Regions from separate parts of the Homo sapiens genome. Here all the other regions are linked to region 3. The links are contacts of gene promoters, found by promoter capture Hi-C in blood cells and fetal thymus (Javierre and others, 2016). All regions are on one chromosome and are shown on one strand. Each heading gives the region's core, a stretch centred on a gene start or on the middle of the fragment in contact. The rest is flanking DNA. Distances are from core to core; before and after follow the strand shown.

Region 1 (2,700 bases), core at 100-2,599, 730 kb after region 3:
GTGCTGAAGTAGGTGAGACTTTCTAAGAAAAGCTTTCCCACATTCACTGCACTCATAAGGCCTTTCTCCAGTGTGAATTTTCTGGTGTTGAACAACATTGTATTTGAGGCTGAAGGCTTTTCCACATTCACTACACTTATAAGGCCTTTCTCCAGTATGATTTCGCTGATGTTTAATAAGGTCGGAGTTGTACCTAAACAATTTGCCACATTCACTGCACTCATAAGGCCTTTCCTCTGTGTGGATTTTCTGGTGCTCAAACAGTGTATGTTGGTGGCAAAAGTCTTTCCCACATTGGGTGCAGCTGTAATTATTCTGTCCACTTTGAAAGGCCTCCACACCATGAGTGTCCCTGTGTGGCTTCCACCCACTGTGAAGAGCCTGTTGTTGAAGATCTGAATCACCAGTAAAATCCTTGCCACCCTGCATGCATGTGAGGTTCCTCTTTGCCAGGTGAACACTGTCATTCACAAACGAAGGCCTCCCTTCATCACTTCTGGTGAGCTTCTCTCTAAGATGCTCCTTTTGGTGCAGGTAAAGCTTGGCTGTACGCTTGGGGTGTGTTCCGTCATGCTCAGCCAGGTGTAGAATGTCCTTCAGAAGTGAGCTACATGTCTCACAGGGCTGGGCCTTCTGGGTGGACAAAGCTGGCTTTAAAGTTGTGACCTGTGACACTCCTACAGAAACACATTGCTTGGAAGGTGCCTCCTCATCCTTGGCTCCATGCCAACAACCTAAAACAGAAATGCTCATGAAGTGCATGATGACTTTGGAGGGAAGAGGCAGCCCCATAACAAATGTCTGTCAGACCAACTCACAAATAAGACCATGGGATTGGTGACAGGCATGGGACATTAAAGCCAGTGAGAGGAAAGCCTACTGGGCAGAACCGGGACTGACAGAAACCCATAACGAAAGAGTCCTGATGATGGGGAACAACATAGGGAGTGGTACAGTGCAGAGCACAGAAGTGGAGTCCCCAAGTTACTCCTCAGTGAATGGCTTTCAACAGGCCATAGCTTCTGGTGAACAATGTGTAGAAGACTGTGTCCAGACCCAGAGAGATCTGATGTGACAGTAGAGCTGGTGTTCAGGGACTGCTGAAATATATACATCCAGACCTCACAACACCTTAAGTACAGGTCATATGTTGAGGGCACTACAAAGGGAACAGTAAAAGGAACAGGTGGCTGGGTGCAGTGGCTCACACCTATAATCCCAGAACTTTGGGAGGCCAAGGCAGGCGGATCAGCTGAGGTCAGGAGTTCGAGACCAGCCTGACCAACATGGAGAAACACCGTCTCTACTAAAAATACAAAATTAGCCAGGTGTGGTGGCGCATGCCTGTAATCCCAGCTATTTGGGATGCTGAGGCAGAAGAATCGCTTGAACCCGGGAAGCAGAGGTTGCAGTGAGTCAAGATCGCGCGCACCATTGCAAGAGCGAAACTCCATCTCAAAAACAAAAACAAAAACAAAAAAAAAACAAAAAACGGGAACAGGTGAGAGGTGGAGGCCAGAGACGTAGGGTCAGAGGTGGGAGCCAGGAGATGAAAGTCAAAAGAGAGATCACAATAGGGAAGAAAAGAGAGACATGCGGTGTGGCCACTGGCAGGGGCATCAAACTGGATTGATTCCCAGTGTGATGTGAACCCAGCCCTGTCATCACACCCCTTCTGAGCTCCCATCCACCAGGGCCAAGTCCTTTTGAGCATCTCTTGCCTTCAATGGAGTAATGTCCACTCTGTCAGGCACCCAGGGACCTCTACCTTGCTCAAGGTGAGCAACTATCTAGGTGTGGCGTTAGCCAAGCTAGGGGAAAGACAGGGAAAGGGAGGGTGTCAACAGCATGTACACAGAGCAATAAACCCAGGACATGCTGTATTCTAAAGTTACCAGAACTTCTAGTGGAGAGTCCTGCAGAAATAAGCCCACAGTCCTCACAAGCAGTGACGAGGTAGGTCCCTGAAATTCCTGACACAGGGTATCCCTATGTCAGCAAGAAGAATGGAGAAAGCCTTGCACAGAGAAAGTGTCATGCATTTGGACAGAGTAAACTAACCAGGGACAGGCAAGGTCATTAGGATATTCTTGAGAAACCTGAGGACTTCTGACTTTTGAGCCTTATAAGGCTTCAGAGTGACAAGAGCTAAGCTTCTTAAGGAAAATTGATACAGATCACACAGCCCAGCTGTAGCTGCCACAACACATATGCCAGGAAACCAGGAGAGGATGCAGCATCCATGACCTGGTGTGAGACGGAGATGCCAAGGAAAAAAGTGAAAAAACATTGCCCAGCACAAGACACTGACGTAGGTGTCAGGGCCTTACCTACTGAGGACAAAAGTGCAAAGTTCTCCAGCATCACATCGCTGTGCAGGTGTCTCTGAACGTCATTAAGAATTCCCCACTCCTCCTGGGAGAAATGTATGGCCACGTCCTCAAAAACCATATAATCCTGCCAAAATTATAACAGTTTAGTCTGTGAGCAACTTTTTTTTTCTTTCTTTTTTTTTTTTTTTTTGAGATGGAGTCTCGCTCTGTTGCCAGGCTGGAGTGCAGTGGTGTGATCTCGGCTCACTGCAAGCTCCGCCTCCCGGATTCAAGTGATTCTCCTGCCTCAGCCTCCTGAGTAGCTGGGATTACAGGCGCGTGCCACCATGACTGGCTAATTTTTGTATTTTTAGTAGAGATGGGGTTT
Region 2 (2,700 bases), core at 55-2,554, 690 kb after region 3:
CACTGCACTCCAGCCTGGGCGACACAGCGAGTCTCCGTCTCAAAAAACAAAAACAAAATACCAATACTATGCTGTTTTGGATACTATGGCTGTGTAAGGTGTTGAAGTCAGGTAGTGTGATGCTCCAGGTTTGTTCTTTTGGCTCAGGATTGCTTTGGCTATTTGGGCTCTTTTGAAGATCCATACAAATTTTAGAATTTTTTTCTATATCTGTGAAAAAATGGCATTTGTATGTTGATTGGGCTTGCATTAAATCTTTAGATTGTTTTGGGTAGTACTGTCTGTTATTTTAACAATATGTATTCTTTGAATACATGAGCATGGGATGTCTTTCCATTTGTTTGTGTCCTCTTCAGTTTATTTTATCAATGCTTTGTAGTTTTCCTTGATGTCTTTCCCCTCTTGATTAAATATTTCTCAGTGTTCTATTTTATTTTATTTTGCTTTTTATAGCTATTGCAAATGGAATTGCCTTCTTGATTTCTGTTTTGGCTATTTCATTATTGGTGTACCGCAATGCTACTGATTTTTGTATATTGATTTTGTGTCTTACAACTATATTAAATTTGTTCCCCAGTTCTAAGAGTTTATAAGATCATATTACAACAAAGAAAAACAATTTTACTTTATATTTTCTCACCCGAATATCTTTTATTTAGTTAGCTAGGTATTTTTCTTGCCTGATTTCTCTGGCTAGGACCTCTAGTACTATACTGAATAGGAGTGGCAAAAATAGGTATCTTATACATGACATTCAGAAATGTGCACACATTATAGTGGTATGCTTCAATACATTTTTCTTGTAGGTCAACACATCTCTGAAGGCAGGACACATTCAAAGAAAGTCCAAAAAGACCAACACCACATGGTCATGGTCTCACTTGTATGCAGAATTTAGGCAAGTTGAGTTTATAAAAGTAGAGAGTAGAATGGTGGTTACCAGAGGCTAAAGAGATAGAGGGCAAACTGAAAAACGGGAGGTTTTTGTGAAAGCATACGAAGTTTCAGTTAGACACAAGGAATGTGTTCTAGTGATCTGTTGCACGGCGTGGTGACTATTGTTAATGTCTATTCCAAAATTGCCAAAAGAGTAGATTTTAAATGTTCTCATCAGAAAGAAATGATAAGTATGTGAGGAGATGTGTATTAAAACATAATGACGGACAAGGTTTTATAATGCCTTATTTTTGCCTTACATATTCCTGAGCATTTTTACTGACCATTTTATTAACAATAATTTTAATTTAATTTTAGACTCACAAGCAGTTTAAAAAATAACTCAGAGAGCCTCTACACATGGCCCAGTTTCCACCCATGGTTACATTTGGCAATTACAGTATAATATCACAATGATGATATTGATTTTGATATATTCACTATCATCTTTTTTTTTTTTTTTTGAGATGGAGTCTCACTCTGTCGCCCAGGCTGGAGTGCAGTGGCGCGATCTCGGCTCACTGCAAGCTCCACCTCCTGGGTTCATGCCATTCTCCTGCCTCAGCCTCCCGAGTAGCTGGGACTACAGGTGCCCGCCACAATGTCCGGCTAATTTTTTGTATTTTTAGTAGAGACGGGGTTTCACCGTGTTAGCCAGGATGGTCTCTATCTCCTGACCTCGTGATCCGCCTGCATCGGCCTCCCAAAGTGCTGAGATTACAGGCATGAGCCACCACACCCGGCCCTCACTATCATCTTAATATTTTCCTAATTTTACTTATACTGATTTGAGGAGAGTCTCTTGCTACAAATGTGTTGGACTTGCTGCTTGTGTCTGTATAGGACAAAGACTATGGAGCCACTGACCCACACCAAGAAGCCAAAACTCAAAAAGTCAGGAGAAAAGTATATAATTGTATATAAGGTGCCAAATATTTCTTGCATTGCCCAGGAGCAGACTCCATAATTGTTTTTCACACTAAGGTTTTTGCTGTTCAGTGGGCTGTTATTAAAACGTCAAGAAACAACAGATGCTGGCAAGGTGGTGGAGAAATAGGAATGCTTTTCCACTGTTGGTGGGAAGGTAAATTAGTTCAACCATTGTGGAAGACAGTGTAGCAATTCCTCAAAGACCTAAAACCAGAAATACCATTTGACCCAGCAATCCCATTACTGTGTATATATCCAAAGGAATATAAATCATTCTATTATTATCATTCTGTTATAAGGATACATGCATGTATATGTTCATTGCAGCACTATTCACAATAGCAAAGAAATGGAATCAACCCAAATGCCCATCAGTGATAAAGAAAATGTGGTACATATACACCATGGAATACTATGCAGCCATAAAAAGAATGAGATCACGTCCTTTGCAGGGATATGGATGGAGCTGGAAGCCATTATCCTCAGAAAACTAACACAGAAACAGAAAACCAAACACCAAATGTTCTCACTTATAAGTGAGAGTTGAGCGATGAGAACACATGGAGACAGGGAGGGGAACAACACACACTGGAATATGTCAAAGGGGTCGGGGGATGGAGCACATCAGGATAAATAGCTAACGCATGCTGAGCTTAATACCTAGGTGACGGGTTGATAGGTGCAGCAAACCACCATGGCACACGTTTACCTATGTAACAAACCTACACATCCGGCACCTGTATCCTGGAACTTTAAAAAATTAAATTAAATTGGCGCGGTGGCTCACGCCTGTAATCCCAGCACTTTGGGAGGCCAAGGTGGGTGGATCACGAG
Region 3 (2,700 bases), core at 175-2,674:
TTCCATTCAGGAATAATATGTCAGTGTGTTCTGAACTTAACTTCAGGTCTGTTAATGAGGTTTTTGTATTTTCTTCATGAAGATCCTTTATTGCTTTTGCTAATTGATTTCCAAGTTGCTCCAACCATCACTATTGTGAGTGACAATTTAATCACTATTATGGCTTAGAATTTTTTTTCTAATTTTCATTTCAAAATTGTGAAGTATTTCAACCTGCGGAGAGGTTCGGAGAGTAATAGAATAATCTATAAATAATAAAGATGACACCCATGTATCATCGAGATTTTACCTGTGTTAACATGTAGTCAGATTTTCAGGTTTTGATTTGTTTTTTCCTATCAAGCATCACAGGTGTAACTGAGGTCTCCTTTGTCTCCTCCCCAACTCTTTCCCCTCAGTTGCCACTTTCTTGAGGTTGGACAATCTATCTGGTCCATGTTATTGTTACTTTACTACTTATGTATCAATCTCTGTATAACATATAGATTTTGTGTCTTTTATTTCCAGGTAAGTTGTATCATGTGGATAAGTGCACAGTTTACTTTTCGAACTGTTTTTGGAGAACTGTCTATCTTGTATATAAGTTAGTCCTTTTTTTTTTTTTTTTTTTTGAGACGAAGTCTCCCTCTTGTCCCCCAGGCTGGAGTGTGATGGTACGATCTCAGCTCACTGCAACCTCCGCCTCCCAGGTTCAAGTGATTCTCTTGCCTCAGCCTCCCGAGGAGCTGGGATTACAGGCGCCTGCCACCACGCCTAGCTAATTTTTGTATTTTTAGTGGAGACGGGGTTTCACCATGTTGGCCAGGCTGGTCTCAAACTCCTGACCTTAGGTGAGCCCAGTCCGTTTGTTTTAACCACCCCCTATTGCTCCGTTGCACATACCACAGTTTCTCTCTTCCCTGTCAGTAAATATTTAGGCTTCCCCATGCTAAAGTTTAAGAGAACCACTGAAAGAATGAAAATGTGTAGTTTTCATTTTCAACCGGCTATTGTTACTACAGAGGAAAGTTACTGGCTTTGTTTACATTTCTTAGATCTAGTCATTTTAACAAATTAGGCCTCCCAAAATGCTGGGATTACAGGCGTGAGCCACGCACCCAGTAAATAATTATATTGCCAATGAATAATGAGTGTACTTATTCTGAATTTTAACATTATTATCTCAAAAAAAGATTATAGATAAAGAAATATTTTAGGAAATTATGCAGTAAATAAAAGGAAGGCTCTATAACAAAAGAATGATAGCATCGGGTTAAAAATCAGAGGAGACCATAGGAGAAAGTAAATGCCTGCGCGTCCGCCCCGAGGCAAGTCCACGCCAGGGTAATGAATAACCCGGTACCCGCGGCCGCCCCAGCGTTGGGCGGGGGAAGCTCGGGGACTCCGCGCACGCGCACATCCTTGTCCCGGCAGCCGCGCAAGCGCAATCGCCCGGAACATGGCTGCCGCCGGCCGCCAACCGTAAGTGCCGACGCATCCCTGAGCCCTGCGCTGCCTCCGTTTCCTGCGGAGGGAAGTCTTGGCGGGTGGAGGTCCGCCGGGTCCTTGTGGGGCGGCGAGGGGCGCGTCCGCGGGTGGGTTTCACCTGGGTGGTGGGCATGTCGGGCCCGCTAGGGCGAGGGTCTGGCCAGGGGCGTAGTTCTCCTGGTGGGTGGGGACGCTCCGTGGCGATTGGGGTCACTCCTCTGAGGACGAGGTCGCTCCGGGGCTGGTCTGGACGCCCCCGCTCTTTCCTTAGCGTCACCCGTGAGTTCCGCGCTCGCATCTCTAGCCCGCCCTCCCATAGAGACTGTTTTGCCACGCCTGCTGGGTGTCCTGGTCCGTCTCCGGGGGTAACCCCCGAGTCTGCAGCTTTTCTGTCAGGTGTGAGGGGCAGTGTAGGCTTGGGTCGGCCTCCGGCTGAATTGGCGGCCGTGAGCCAGTGGGCTGAGCCGCTTCCCCTTGAGTCTCGAAGGTGTTAGATCACCTGTGTGTTTTTCCATTTGATATTTGCAAAATCATGTTTTACTGCAATTCTCAGTGAGGGCCGCATTTTTGCACGTGTTTAGTGACCATTTTGCTGTCTTTTCCCTTGGTTTAGTGGCATATTTCCTTTGTGCAGTCTTCCAGTCTCAATATTTTATGACATAAAATGTTGGTTTAGATAGAGAAGCTGAAAGACTTGTGCAGTGAACGACCCGGTTAACGTCTGCTGAACTTACTGTATCCCTTATCTTTCCTTCTGTCCATCCTTTCAGCCATTCATTAATCCACCTATTTTTGGAAACATTTCAAAGTAAGTTGCAGATATCACAACACTTCTCCCTCAAACACCTCACTATGCTTACCATGAATTAGAGTTCAGTAGTGCTTTTTTAAATTTTTTGAGCCAAAATTGACTTTCAGTGAAATGCACAGATATTCCCTGTACCATTGATGAATTTTGACAAATGCAACCTAAACCTTTATTAAAATTACCATCAGCCTGAAAAGGTCCTTTATTTTTTGCCAAGTTAAAAAATTTGGCTATAGGAACTTGGGCTTGTTGAAGTACGTTTTGAATACCCAGTTTTTGTCTGTTTTTTCTTTTTTCCCACAGCAAGTGACTTTCCTCCATTCTACTGCTTGTTTACCTCTCTCTTCACCCAACTTTTCATTTTGAAAAGTTCCGCATTTGCATAGAAGTTGCAGGAATAGTTTAACACTTCTAAAACCATCCAG
Region 4 (2,700 bases), core at 137-2,636, 710 kb after region 3:
ACTCTGTTGCCCAGGCTGGAGTGCAGGGGCACAATCATGGCTCACTGCAGCCTTTACTTCCCAGGCTCAGGTGACCCTCCTGCCTCAGCACGCCGATTAGCTGAGACCACAGAGAGACGCCACCACACCCAGCTATTTATTATTATTTGTAGGGACAGAGTCTCCCTATGTTGCCCAGGCTGGCCTCAAGCAATCTTCCCACCTCTGCCTCCCAAAGTGCTGGGATTACAGGTGTGATCCACCATGCCTGGCCACTGGAACATTTTTGACTTGGCCAAAACTTGGTTCCTCATATGCTCTACTATATAAACACTCCCCCTACTACAGAACTTACTACATCTTAGTTGCTGGGACATCCATCCTTCCAAATAAGGCCAAAACTGTGGGGCCATTCCTGACCCCCTCTTCCATCTCAGCTCCCAAGCTTCCTTGCTCTCTACGTTATAAAATACAGGCAGCTCTAGATCAAACACATACAGAAGCCCCCCACTCCTCCCACTTCCACCACCGCCACTCTCGTTCAGTCACCAACAACCTCCACCTGGGCTGTTGCTGGACCCATCACCCAGGTATCGGTGGCTCCACCCTCACCTGCACGTGGTCTTCCATTCTGCAGGCAGAGGGAGCCACTAAAACCTGGGTCAGGTCACCTCTTTTTCCCCCCTCCTCAAACCTTCCCTAGTTACCATCGCCCTCAGATGAAAGGCCCAGAACCTTAGACTGCCATTCCATGCCGATCCCGCATGCCCTGTATGCCCCAACCTCCTACCCTGCTGCCATACTCTATCACGACCAGATACAACATGGATTTTCAGTTCACTAAACATCCCAGCTAAGTCGCACCAGTAAGCATTTGAACTTTCTATATCCCGTGCCTGAACGCCCTGCCACATCTTATCCCATCAGTTGTCGGAACTAGGACCACTCTATAACCAGAGGCTGAGTTCTGACTCCTGGTTGTCGTGGAACCACAGTCTTCAGACCCAAGGAAGGGAAAAACATGAAGTTTCAGGACACCACCTTTCCCTATATCAGGATGCCTAAAATAACGGAGAGATAAGTGGTGGGGGCCTGGGGTAGAGAGCCTGAGAAATCCTTGACTTACCTGTGCAGGGTCCTTATGCATTGCTGCCACTGCAATGGACCCTGTGGGAAGATGTGGCAGACTTGTACAGTTACTACTTGAGACCATCACTACGACAGTTACTGTTACTACTTGAGACCATCATTACGAGACTGAATGAAGGGGGACGAACGTAGAAATGAAAACTTAAGACGAAAGAAACTGTTTTAAAGAAGGCGAACTGGGGAAGAAGAGAGCTCCCTGCTTCTAGTGAGCAAAGGCAGCCCCTGAGCTTCCACAGCCCTCCACATTTATTGGGTAGGATGAAAGGGAGGAGGAGGTAACGACTGGTCAGCTGCTTAATTGATCACAAGTTCACATTATTGTTAACAGGCTTCAATTATGCCTAATCACAAGAAACACTTGTGCCTGGGTCGTGACTGCCTTCAGCATTCCTTCTGGGTGGCAGACGCAGTTTGTCAGTTTGCCAACATCCTGCTTTCATGAGAAACAGTTTGCTGTTTACTCATATAGCCTCCAGTGGCATACTGAGTTGATCACGACCCTCATTCTTTCGGCCTGTAACAGGAAGAAGCAAGCCATGAGTATCAGGACAGTACTGTGGCATCCTACAGGCTGAGCTGTACAACCATCTCTGCCCTGTACTGGAGCAAAGTAATCTGAAGCTACAGCAAGTCCTAAGTTCAGTGCTGCCTCTTAGCAGCTCTGTGTCTTTGGACAAGGACTGAACCTCCCTAAGCCTCAGTGCCCTTATGTGTAAAATGGAGATTAAAAGGGTTCCCACTTCACAGGGCTCATATTGACAAGAAGCATAAGTAGTACACACTATGTATAAGCATTACTTTCTATAGGATTAATGGTTTTGTACATGTTTTCAGCACAAAGTAGAAGGGTTTTGAAAATTTGAGTATTTTTCCCTTTTTTTTTTTTTTTTTTGAGACAGTGTCTCGCCCTGTTGCCCAGGCTGCAGTGCAATGGCACAATCTCAGCTCACTGGAACCTCCACCTCCCGGGTTCAAACGATTCTCCTGCCTCAGCCTCCTAAGTAGCTGGGATTACAGGCGCCCGCCACCACGCCCAGGTAATTTTTGTATTTTTAGTAGAGACAGAGTTTCACCATGTTGGCCAGGCTGGTCTCAAACTCCTGACCTCGTGATCCGCCCACCTTCGCTTCCCAAAGTGCTGGGATTACAGGCATGAGCCACTGTGCCCAGCCCACACTTCTTAATGTTTTAAGGAAATGTGATATATATATAAAGCTTTGTACTATAAGCAGAGTTACAGGTAAATTAACATTCTAACAATAAATATTTTAATACATTTAAATTATTGATTACATCTATTTCCAATTGCCTATGTGTACATATTTAGAAGGATATTGGCTGAGGAAAAAAAAAAATAGCCCAGACCTGTCTGACCTACACAAAATGTATCAGGCTCAGAGAGGCAAGAATATATGAGATGTCAGTCACATCCCTGAACCTATGCCTGAGGACAACTGTTTTAAGACATTCTGTTCCTGACTAGCTGTCTCACCTATTATCTTCATGTTTCTGTAATCTATAATATAAATAAGAATGTATAGCCAATAAAAACTTATCTTATTTTAACATAAG
Region 5 (2,700 bases), core at 148-2,647, 670 kb after region 3:
GCAAATCCCCTGTGCATTCCTGAATGAACTCAACATCTTTGAAGAATCTCTGTTATTTAGGTTGACAGTTTAAATATATCCTACATTGTGCTTTTCTTTGCCTCACTTCTTCCACTTATTTTACTATTATTTTACCTTTCTATTGATTATTTATTTATATTCCAAACATTTCCTCTTCTAGTTTGAAAAGTATATACGCTGACTGTATTTATTATATTTAGGCTAAAAATTACAAACGTTTAACACATTAGCGTGCCATACAGGATTGTAATACATTTGCTTTCCACTTGGAAATATAAAAAATTTAAAACTTTGAGCAACTAGCCTCCTTTCAATTTATATGTAGTTGAGGTTACGCACGGGAATTCCATCATTCTAACTCAATAAGTATATCTACTTATGTTTTACACTGTAATATGCTGTTATTTTAATCAAAAGATGCACTTCTTTTCATCTTCATTTCTTCTCTCATTGCAGACTTTTCACCTGAGATCAACTTTCTTTGGCCTTGAGTATTATTTTAAACATTATTTTTTGTGTAAATGTATTTCCATTACATTTATCATTTTTGGTTTCAAATAGTTTTATATCACACTTCCATAAAAGACATTTTGTTGTGTATAGACATCTAGTTTGGTGGTTATTTCTTCTTTACAGAAAGTGTTCATGTTGCCCTTTTCATTGCCATATGACATTTGATGAATTCTGTCTTTTCAGACACTTGTAAAACACTTAAAATATTGAATACATCTCTGTATATGGAGTATGAAATACTATCTTGAACAAGAGTATTACTTGTTGGGTTTGACACAATCACTGCTGTATAAGCAGGATAAATATTTTCTGAGGTAACAGACAGAAGGGTTATTCACTTACTTCAAGGCCACCAAACATCCCCACTCCACGTTCCACATCATGGTGTCTGGAGTCTTTTCTTTCTTGTGCCTGACAGAAAATGCTGAGGCTCGCCAAACTAACTCTGGAGCATCAGGCTACACGCATTTGAAAACAATATTTGTTAACTTCCAGCCATAGAAATCTGAGTGACGTCAGTGTATGGTGTGTCCATTTTATTTTTTGATGAGCATTCTCTGCGTAAGGAAGGCTGAAATCATGTCTCTAAACATTCCTTTGATGTCAAACACGACGTTCACCAGAAATACAGATATGGCTCCTTCAAGAGGAAGCTAAGCTCCGTCTGGGCCTTGGAGACGAGGGACACCATTTCCACGCGCCCCTGGCGGTCTTCTCTGGGCTTTTAACCTGGAGGTGAAGCGAGACGCCGCTTACTAGTGTTGGTGCCGTGGGAACTACATTACCCAGGAAACTTGGCGGCTCTGGGCCAATGAAAACCCAGGAAATAGGCGTTTCCGTTGGTCCTCACCAACGTCAGGGCGGGACTTCCTCTACCATCCTCGGGTGGACATTTTGTTTGCTTTTCCATTAATCCACTGGTTTAGTTTCCAGAACGCAATGTCAGACCTGAGGTGACAGAAAAGGGAAAACGTGAGAGAGTGTCTTCTTCCCTGAAGAGAGGTGGGCCTGAGGCTTGACAGTGGCGCTGCCTGAGTGACCTAGCCGCTGGGCTGGGCCCTGGACAGCTGATCCCAGGTTCCTGCACTTGTCGCCACCCTTCCGTAGTCCACAGGCCTGATGGCGGCGGCTGAGCCGATGGGCCCGGCACAGGTGGGTGCTGCGTCTGCGAGTCTGCGCGCTGACCCCCATCTCTGAATCCCAAAGCTTCGAATGAACGATTCCTCGGGTTACTGCAGCTCAGGCCCCTGTATCTAGAACAGTGGGGGCGCTCGTGTTTGGGACCCATTTTGACAGCACGAGTTGAAGGACGTTCCAGGCAGAGAGACCAGTGTATGCAAAGGCTCAGAGATGGTTCACAGCTGGAGCATTTGGGAAAACTGGGCCTTTAGTGTCTGAAAGGATCAGAGCGCTTTATAAGTGATTGCACCTGGAATATCATCCTGAGCAGCTGGGTCTCTATTCTGAGGGTGATGGGAGCCATGGAAGGTTCTGAACAGAGGAGAGCCAGAATCCGAGGGTTTAAAAAGTATTCCATAGACTGCTCATGGAGGGCAGACTCTTGTTGGCCATGGGGGCGGATAATGAGCACTGTTCCGAGCTAACACAGTTAAGAGGTATCCTTGAAGATGGAAGCACAGAGGGTAGACATTCAGCTCCCAGGCACATTGTAACTGGGTAGGAATATGGGATGGGGTTGAGCCTTTGGGGTTCCTTCAAGATTGCTTGACTCGCATAGTCTCCCTCTTCCCCACAGGTTCCCATGAACTCAGAAGTAATTGTGGACCCTATACAGGTGAGGGGAGAATGTCCATGCTCTCACCGATCCCACCCCCACCCAATACGCTCTCCAGCATTGTGGTGTTATATAGAACACTCTCCTGCTACTCTCCGATCTCTTGGGTCTGAGGACTCTGGAGAAGCCCCAAGCCCAGGGTCCTGACTCCGGGCCAGGGGTTTTATGGAGGGGTTTCCATTTCTGCCAACCATTGGAATAAGGTTGGAAGGTTGTTCCAGGCACAGGAACCAGCCTGTGCAAAATACTTAGAGGTGAGACTGAGAAGGGAGTTTTCAAGAAATTGCAGGTCTCTGTCATGTCTGGTGGGAACCAAGAGCAAGGGGGCGGGAATCATCCTGAAATGGCTTAAAGATGATTATGTAGATTGG
Region 6 (2,700 bases), core at 87-2,586, 650 kb after region 3:
CTCTTACTGTACACATAATTAATGCTTCTGTCAACATTTTCAGTGCAAATAAACTGGTAGGTTTTCAAAATGTGGGTTTCTGCCTGGGTGCAGTGGCTCAAGCCTGTAATCCCAACACTTTGGGAGGCCGAGGTGGGCAGATCACAAGAGCAGAATTCTGTCTCAAAAAAAAAAAAAAAAGAAAGAAAAAGAAAGACAATGTGGGTTTCCTTTTGGCAATCTGGCTGCCTGCTATATACTCCCCTGAAGACCATCCTGCTGAGAGCCCTCCCTTCTACTGGAGCAGTTGATCATCCCACCTGTGCTGATAGCTAGGGAAACTTAGGCACCAAAGGTGCTGCTCCACCAGCCTGGCTGACCTTTCCTTTTCTCCATATGGACTGGACATGAGGAACTACTAAGCCTGGAGTGGCAAACCTATATACTACCCAACACTGCGGTCTCCATCCAGTCCTGGGTGTTCATACTCTATAACCCTCCATTCCTGCAGGCACCAGACAAAATCACTTCGGACCACGAAACTCCAGGCTGTAGAGGCTGCCCCATCCTACAGGCCCATCTCTCCCTTCCCTCACCTCAGGGACCATCTGAAAGAAAACTTTAAGATTCTCCCTCCTAAATACGAGCCCCAGGCCTTCCAGCTGCTCATGTGGACATGACACCTCCACTCTGGGACATCTCAGGATCACCATGCCCAAAACCTATTCCCTGCACAGCCTTACCCATCTCCATCCTTCCTGATATTCAGGAACAAACAAAAATACAAATAAAAATCCAGAATGGCTCTTCATTCCCTACTTTCTTTCACAGTCACATCTGATGCAACAGGAATTCCCGTCTGTTCAGTTTTTGAAATCCATCCAAGATCTGATCACTTCCCCTCCTCTGTGGCCCAGTCCCAGTAGACTCTCCACTAGTCTACTGAATTTACCTACTCACAGGTCTGTCTTCACCCGCCTCACCCCCACCCCAGTCTGTTTTGACTTGAAGGGCCTTTGGCAAACTTTGAGAAACAGATCTTGTCACTCTTCTGTCTCCAGCCCTCCGCGGCCACTGTGGCCCCCTCAGGATGAAAGCGCAGCTGCTCGGGCTGTCGCTCGACACGCGCCTCGTCCCTTCCCAAGCTGCCCACTACAGACACCAGGAGGCCTCAGGTTCGGGACTCGCTGAATGCGCCTCACATCTTTGCGAGCCGGGCCCCTTGCCCTCCATTGCCACCCCATCACACTGCGTGTCAGAAACGGGACGCCGCCCACGAACGCCCCACAGTTCTGCACCCGGGGACCTGAGCAGGCGGCCCTCACAGGGCTTTAGGATTCGGGGGAGGCCGGGAGGACGCGGCGCTCACCTGAGCGGGGTCCCTCAGCGTGGCCGCCGCCATCGGAGCCTGTGGCGGTGAGACAACGACCGAGGAAAGGGCCCGGGCCACCCTGGGCGCCGCCACCGAGCCTCAGACCCGCCTCTGAGCTGCGAGAACACAGCGCGTCCCCACCGCGCTTTCCGGAGCTGGTCGCCGCAGCGAACAACCAGCTTCCGGCAAGCTGAGTTCTCTTGAGGGCAGCGAAAGCAACCGCCGAGGGGAGACGCCGGAAGTCCCGCCCATTGCGCGTCGCACTCTCGGGTAGACCTCTTTTCATTGGCCAAGCATCGCGGCTCACGGCGCGGCGCCTTCTGGGCAGTGTAGTTCGCGTGGCTCCAAACTTCGAGGAAGTGGGCATAACTTCGGAGATGGAGATTGGAGACGGTAGATGATGGAGATGGAGATGGAGATGGAGATGATGGAGATGATGGAGATGGAGATGATGGAGATAGAGATGATGATGGAGATGGAGATGATGGAAATGGAGATGATGAAGATGGAGATGATGGAGAAGATGGAGATGATGGAGAAGATGGAGATGATGGAGAAGATGGAGATGGAGATGATGGAGTAGGAGATGGAGATGGAGATGATGGAGATGATGGAGATGGAGATGATGGAGATAGAGATGATGATGGAGATAGAGATGATGATGGAGATGGAGATGATGGAGATGGAGATGATGGAGATAGAGATGATGATGGACATGGAGATGATGGAGATGGAGATGATGATGAAGATGGAGATGATGGAGAAGATGGAGATGGAGATGATGGAGTAGGAGATGGAGGAGAAATGAGTGTCGAGAACTCTCGGACTCATCTGGAACCTGTTGTAATTGGAGATGGGCCTGGATTTCAGTTTCCTGCAGCTGATACTCCAATCTTTCCTTCTTTTGAAGGACTTGAAGAGGATCTTCAGGGCCACCATAAAGAGGTTTCACTGGGCAAAGCCACGTATACCTTCCTAAATTTCCTTTGGCAAGGGGACACCCAATATTAATGCCTGATGTATGATAATAAGAAAAGGCTCTGAATTCTGGATGTAGGTGATGAGAGAGTAGGGGAGCCCAAGGATTTACGTTCCTCTTTCACCCCATTCTCATTTGTGTTCTTTCCTTCCTCAAGGACCCAACATTGGTGTAAAGGCACAACAACAGGCAGCAAACCCATAAGCCAACTCCCCCTCAATTTCTCCCCTTCATCCATTTCTGCTCCATATTCCTGTCACAGTTACTATGGGACTGAACGAAGGGGAACGAATGCAGAAATGAAAACAAAGGCAAAATAAATCTGTTTTAAAGAAGGGGTCAGGGGGCTTCTTGCTTCTAGTGAGGAAGG
Region 7 (2,700 bases), core at 13-2,512, 830 kb after region 3:
GGTAGACACACCAGTTGTTAGTTTCTGATACTTAAGAGCTACAGTGATGTAAGGCAGGTAATTGAACCTATGTGAGCCTCCAGCTGCTCTTGTGTAAAACAGTGAGGACAAGAGAACCTAATTCTAAGGAGTTCAGGATTAAAGGAGCTGAGGGTTAAATAATGCCTGCCAATCAGCCCACAGCAAGGACTCTTTATGATCAGCTGTCACTCTTTGCAATTATTTCGTTTCTCTTTGTTCACATAACATCCTAGACCAACTCAAACGGCAAGCTTCTTTAATATCGTCAGATTCTCTATACAAAAATGCCACACATTGCCAAAAATGGGCAAGTGCGTAAGGCGCCACTTTAGCCGGAATTGCCAAGAAAGCCACCTCCAAATAGGTGACATCTGGACAGAGGCCAGAAAGATATGAGAGGGAGGCCCTGCGAAGTTATAGGGGCAGTGTTCAAGGCAAAGGGAAGTGCAAAGAGAAAGCCTGGAAAAAGGAAGAAGACTGCACGGTCAGGTTGGTGGCTCTGAAGAGCAAAGGACAAGGGAAAAATGGAGAGACAAGGTCAGGGGTGGTTGGCCAGGTGGATGGGGTAGGGGCTGGCAGGCAACAGAGGAGGTTGGATTTAAGGGAAGTGTGATGAGATCCATGAAGGAAGCATCATTCATCCTTCTACCAAGGACTGAGCACCTGTCGGAGGCCAACACTATTGCAGGACTGCGGATAAAGGAAATGACAAGCTACGGCCACTTCTCTTAAATAAACGACGGCGACAAAGAAACATCCTGTGGCTGTCTTGGCTTCTGCCTGCCCACGAGGCCTCCAGAAGTAGCAGAGCAGCAGCAAGGCCAAAACCTCGTCCACTCACCTGCGCCGAGGCTGCCATCCTGAGACCCTGCAGCCCTAGCGGGGCCCGGGAATGCCGCGGCTCAGCCGACCCCCAGCCCTTCTCTGTCCTGGGCGGGGCGACCTCGGCTGACTTTCGCACTCGGAGCCTCAGTTTCCCCAGAGAAAAATGCGCACAAAGCGGGCGCAGCGTCGGGGCTGAGGAGACGGAGGGCGGCTGCGGAGGCCTAGGCCTCGGCAGGCGCCGGTGGAACACCCCGTTAGGGAAGAAGCGGGGCGTCAGGCTCCCGCCAAGATGCGGAGAAGGCGCGTAACAGCCTCATTACCCTCCCCTGCTCAGGCCGCTGGACGCGCCTACCCAGCGGTCCAGGCCCCACACTGTTCCAGGGCCAATCCTGCTCACGGAGATGACGTCACGCGACGAAGCGGAAGTCCCACCTCCGCCGCCCTGGCCCGCAGAAATCGCCCGTGTCCTGGCCCGTCATTGGCCTAGAGTCCGCGGCCGACGCAAGGGGTGGTGCCTTCTGAGTAAGGCAGTTTTTCCCTCACATCTACCGGGTGTGGGAACTCACCAAGCGCAGCCGACTCCATTTAAGTGCGCACAAGGACCCCCGCGTCGTCTTAGGGCCGCCGCTTTACTATGGGCACAAGTCGGAGGGTCGAAAGGTCCTTTCTAGCTTAGGAAAATTGAGGTCAGGAGGCGGGGATATTCGCCCCGATTGAGATCATGGGCTGGGCCCAGAGCTTCTGGCTCACTTCCCTTATTTTAGGGAGGTAGCTCATATATGTAATCTCAGTGCTTTGGGATGCCAACACAAAATAATTGCTGAGGTCAGGAGTTTGAGACCACCCTGGGCAATATAGTAAGATGTTATATCTACCAAAAAAAAAAAAAAGAGCAAGGCATGATGGTGTACACCTGTAGTCCTAGACACTGGGAGGCTGAAGCAAGAGGATTGCTTGAGCCCAGGAATTTGAGGTTATAATGAGATATGATGAGAGAAAACACACACACATAAACACACTGAGATGCCATCTTATACTGGTCAGAGTGGCTATTATTAAAAAGTAAAAAACCAACAGATGTTGGTATGGATGCAAGGAAAAGGGAACGCTTATATGCTATTGGTGGGAATGTAAATTAGTACAACCTCTATGGAAAACAGTATGGAGATTTATCAAAGAACTGAAAATAGAACTGCCATTTGATCTGGCAATTCCACTATTGGGTATTTACTTAAAGGAAAATAAACCACTATATCAAAAAGATGCCTGTACTTACATGCTTACTGTAGCACTATTCACAGTAGCAAAGTCATAGAATCAACCTAAGTGTCCATCGACAGATGATTGGATAAAGAAAATGCGATATATATATGTATATATATGTATGTATATGTATATATGTATATATATGTATGTATATGTATATATGTATGTATATGTATATATATGTATATATGTATGTATATGTATATATATGTATATATGTATGTATATGTATATATATGTGTATATATGTATGTATATGTATATATATGTATATATATGTATGTATATGTATATATATGTATGTATATGTATATATATGTATATATATGTATGTATATGTATATATATGTATATATATGTATGTATATGTATATATGTATATATGTATGTATATGTATATATATGTATATATATGTATGTATATGTATATATGTGTATATATATATACACTCCATGGAATACTACTCAGTCATTAAAAAAAATCATGGCTTTTGCAGCAATATGGCTGGAACTGGGGGGCCATTCTCTTAAGTGAAATAATTCAGAAACAAAGTCAAATACTGCATGTTATCACTTATAAGTGGTAGC

Evidence for each region. The method cuts DNA at HindIII sites, captures the fragments that hold promoters and counts their contacts. A CHiCAGO score of 5 or more calls a contact.
Region 1: a contact is called between a fragment that was not itself captured here and the fragment with the promoter of ZNF329 in region 3, in 5 of 17 cell types (naive CD4 T cells, total CD4 T cells, activated CD4 T cells and 2 more). The highest score is 10.7, in naive CD4 T cells.
Region 2: a fragment that was not itself captured here is called in contact with the fragment with the promoter of ZNF329 in region 3 in 4 of 17 cell types (naive CD4 T cells, erythroblasts, non-activated CD4 T cells and 1 more); the score reaches 7.2 in naive CD4 T cells.
Region 4: a fragment that was not itself captured here is called in contact with the fragment with the promoter of ZNF329 in region 3 in 4 of 17 cell types (non-activated CD4 T cells, naive CD4 T cells, total CD8 T cells and 1 more); the score reaches 6.4 in non-activated CD4 T cells.
Region 5: a contact is called between the fragment with the promoter of ZNF772 here and the fragment with the promoter of ZNF329 in region 3, in 17 of 17 cell types (total CD8 T cells, total CD4 T cells, naive CD4 T cells and 14 more). The highest score is 31.9, in total CD8 T cells.
Region 6: a contact is called between a fragment that was not itself captured here and the fragment with the promoter of ZNF329 in region 3, in 5 of 17 cell types (total CD8 T cells, naive CD4 T cells, fetal thymus and 2 more). The highest score is 6.9, in total CD8 T cells.
Region 7: a contact is called between the fragment with the promoter of ZNF543 here and the fragment with the promoter of ZNF329 in region 3, in 14 of 17 cell types (naive CD4 T cells, naive CD8 T cells, activated CD4 T cells and 11 more). The highest score is 29.2, in naive CD4 T cells.

The regions. Positions count from the first base shown.
Region 1 is chr19:57,417,669-57,420,368 of GRCh38, reverse strand. It overlaps ZNF17 (zinc finger protein 17), which reads right to left. Exons shown (of 4, transcript NM_001330617.2): 3 at 2,331-2,457; 4 at 1-734. Among named protein-coding and RNA genes, the nearest start is that of ZNF17, 7.9 kb to the right of the region's middle. The HindIII fragment of the contact is 1,613 bases long and covers 543-2,155 here.
Region 2 is chr19:57,459,149-57,461,848 of GRCh38, reverse strand. It overlaps the pseudogene VN1R107P. Among named protein-coding and RNA genes, the nearest start is that of VN1R1, 3.4 kb to the right of the region's middle. The HindIII fragment of the contact is 3,582 bases long and covers 1-2,700 here.
Region 3 is chr19:58,149,513-58,152,212 of GRCh38, reverse strand. It overlaps ZNF329 (zinc finger protein 329), which reads left to right and starts at 1,424. Exons shown (of 4, transcript NM_024620.4): 1 at 1,424-1,461. RefSeq lists an enhancer at 1,288-1,347. The HindIII fragment of the contact is 7,703 bases long and covers 1-2,700 here.
Region 4 is chr19:57,437,044-57,439,743 of GRCh38, reverse strand. All of the region lies in intron 1 of ZNF749 (zinc finger protein 749), which reads right to left. Among named protein-coding and RNA genes, the nearest start is that of ZNF749, 3.1 kb to the right of the region's middle. The HindIII fragment of the contact is 1,919 bases long and covers 427-2,345 here.
Region 5 is chr19:57,476,263-57,478,962 of GRCh38, reverse strand. ZNF772 (zinc finger protein 772) reads left to right here and starts at 1,397. Exons shown (of 4, transcript NM_001144068.2): 1 at 1,397-1,686; 2 at 2,291-2,329. The coding sequence starts at 1,654. RefSeq lists enhancers at 883-2,082, 1,673-2,196. The HindIII fragment of the contact is 1,804 bases long and covers 1-1,742 here.
Region 6 is chr19:57,498,762-57,501,461 of GRCh38, reverse strand. ZNF773 (zinc finger protein 773) reads right to left here and starts at 1,524. Exons shown (of 4, transcript NM_198542.3): 1 at 1,349-1,524. The coding sequence starts at 1,381. The HindIII fragment of the contact is 4,827 bases long and covers 1-2,700 here.
Region 7 is chr19:57,319,034-57,321,733 of GRCh38, reverse strand. It overlaps ZNF543 (zinc finger protein 543), which reads right to left and starts at 1,262. Exons shown (of 4, transcript NM_213598.4): 1 at 863-1,262. The coding sequence starts at 880. RefSeq lists enhancers at 1,164-1,313, 1,324-1,443, 2,369-2,700. The HindIII fragment of the contact is 3,609 bases long and covers 275-2,700 here.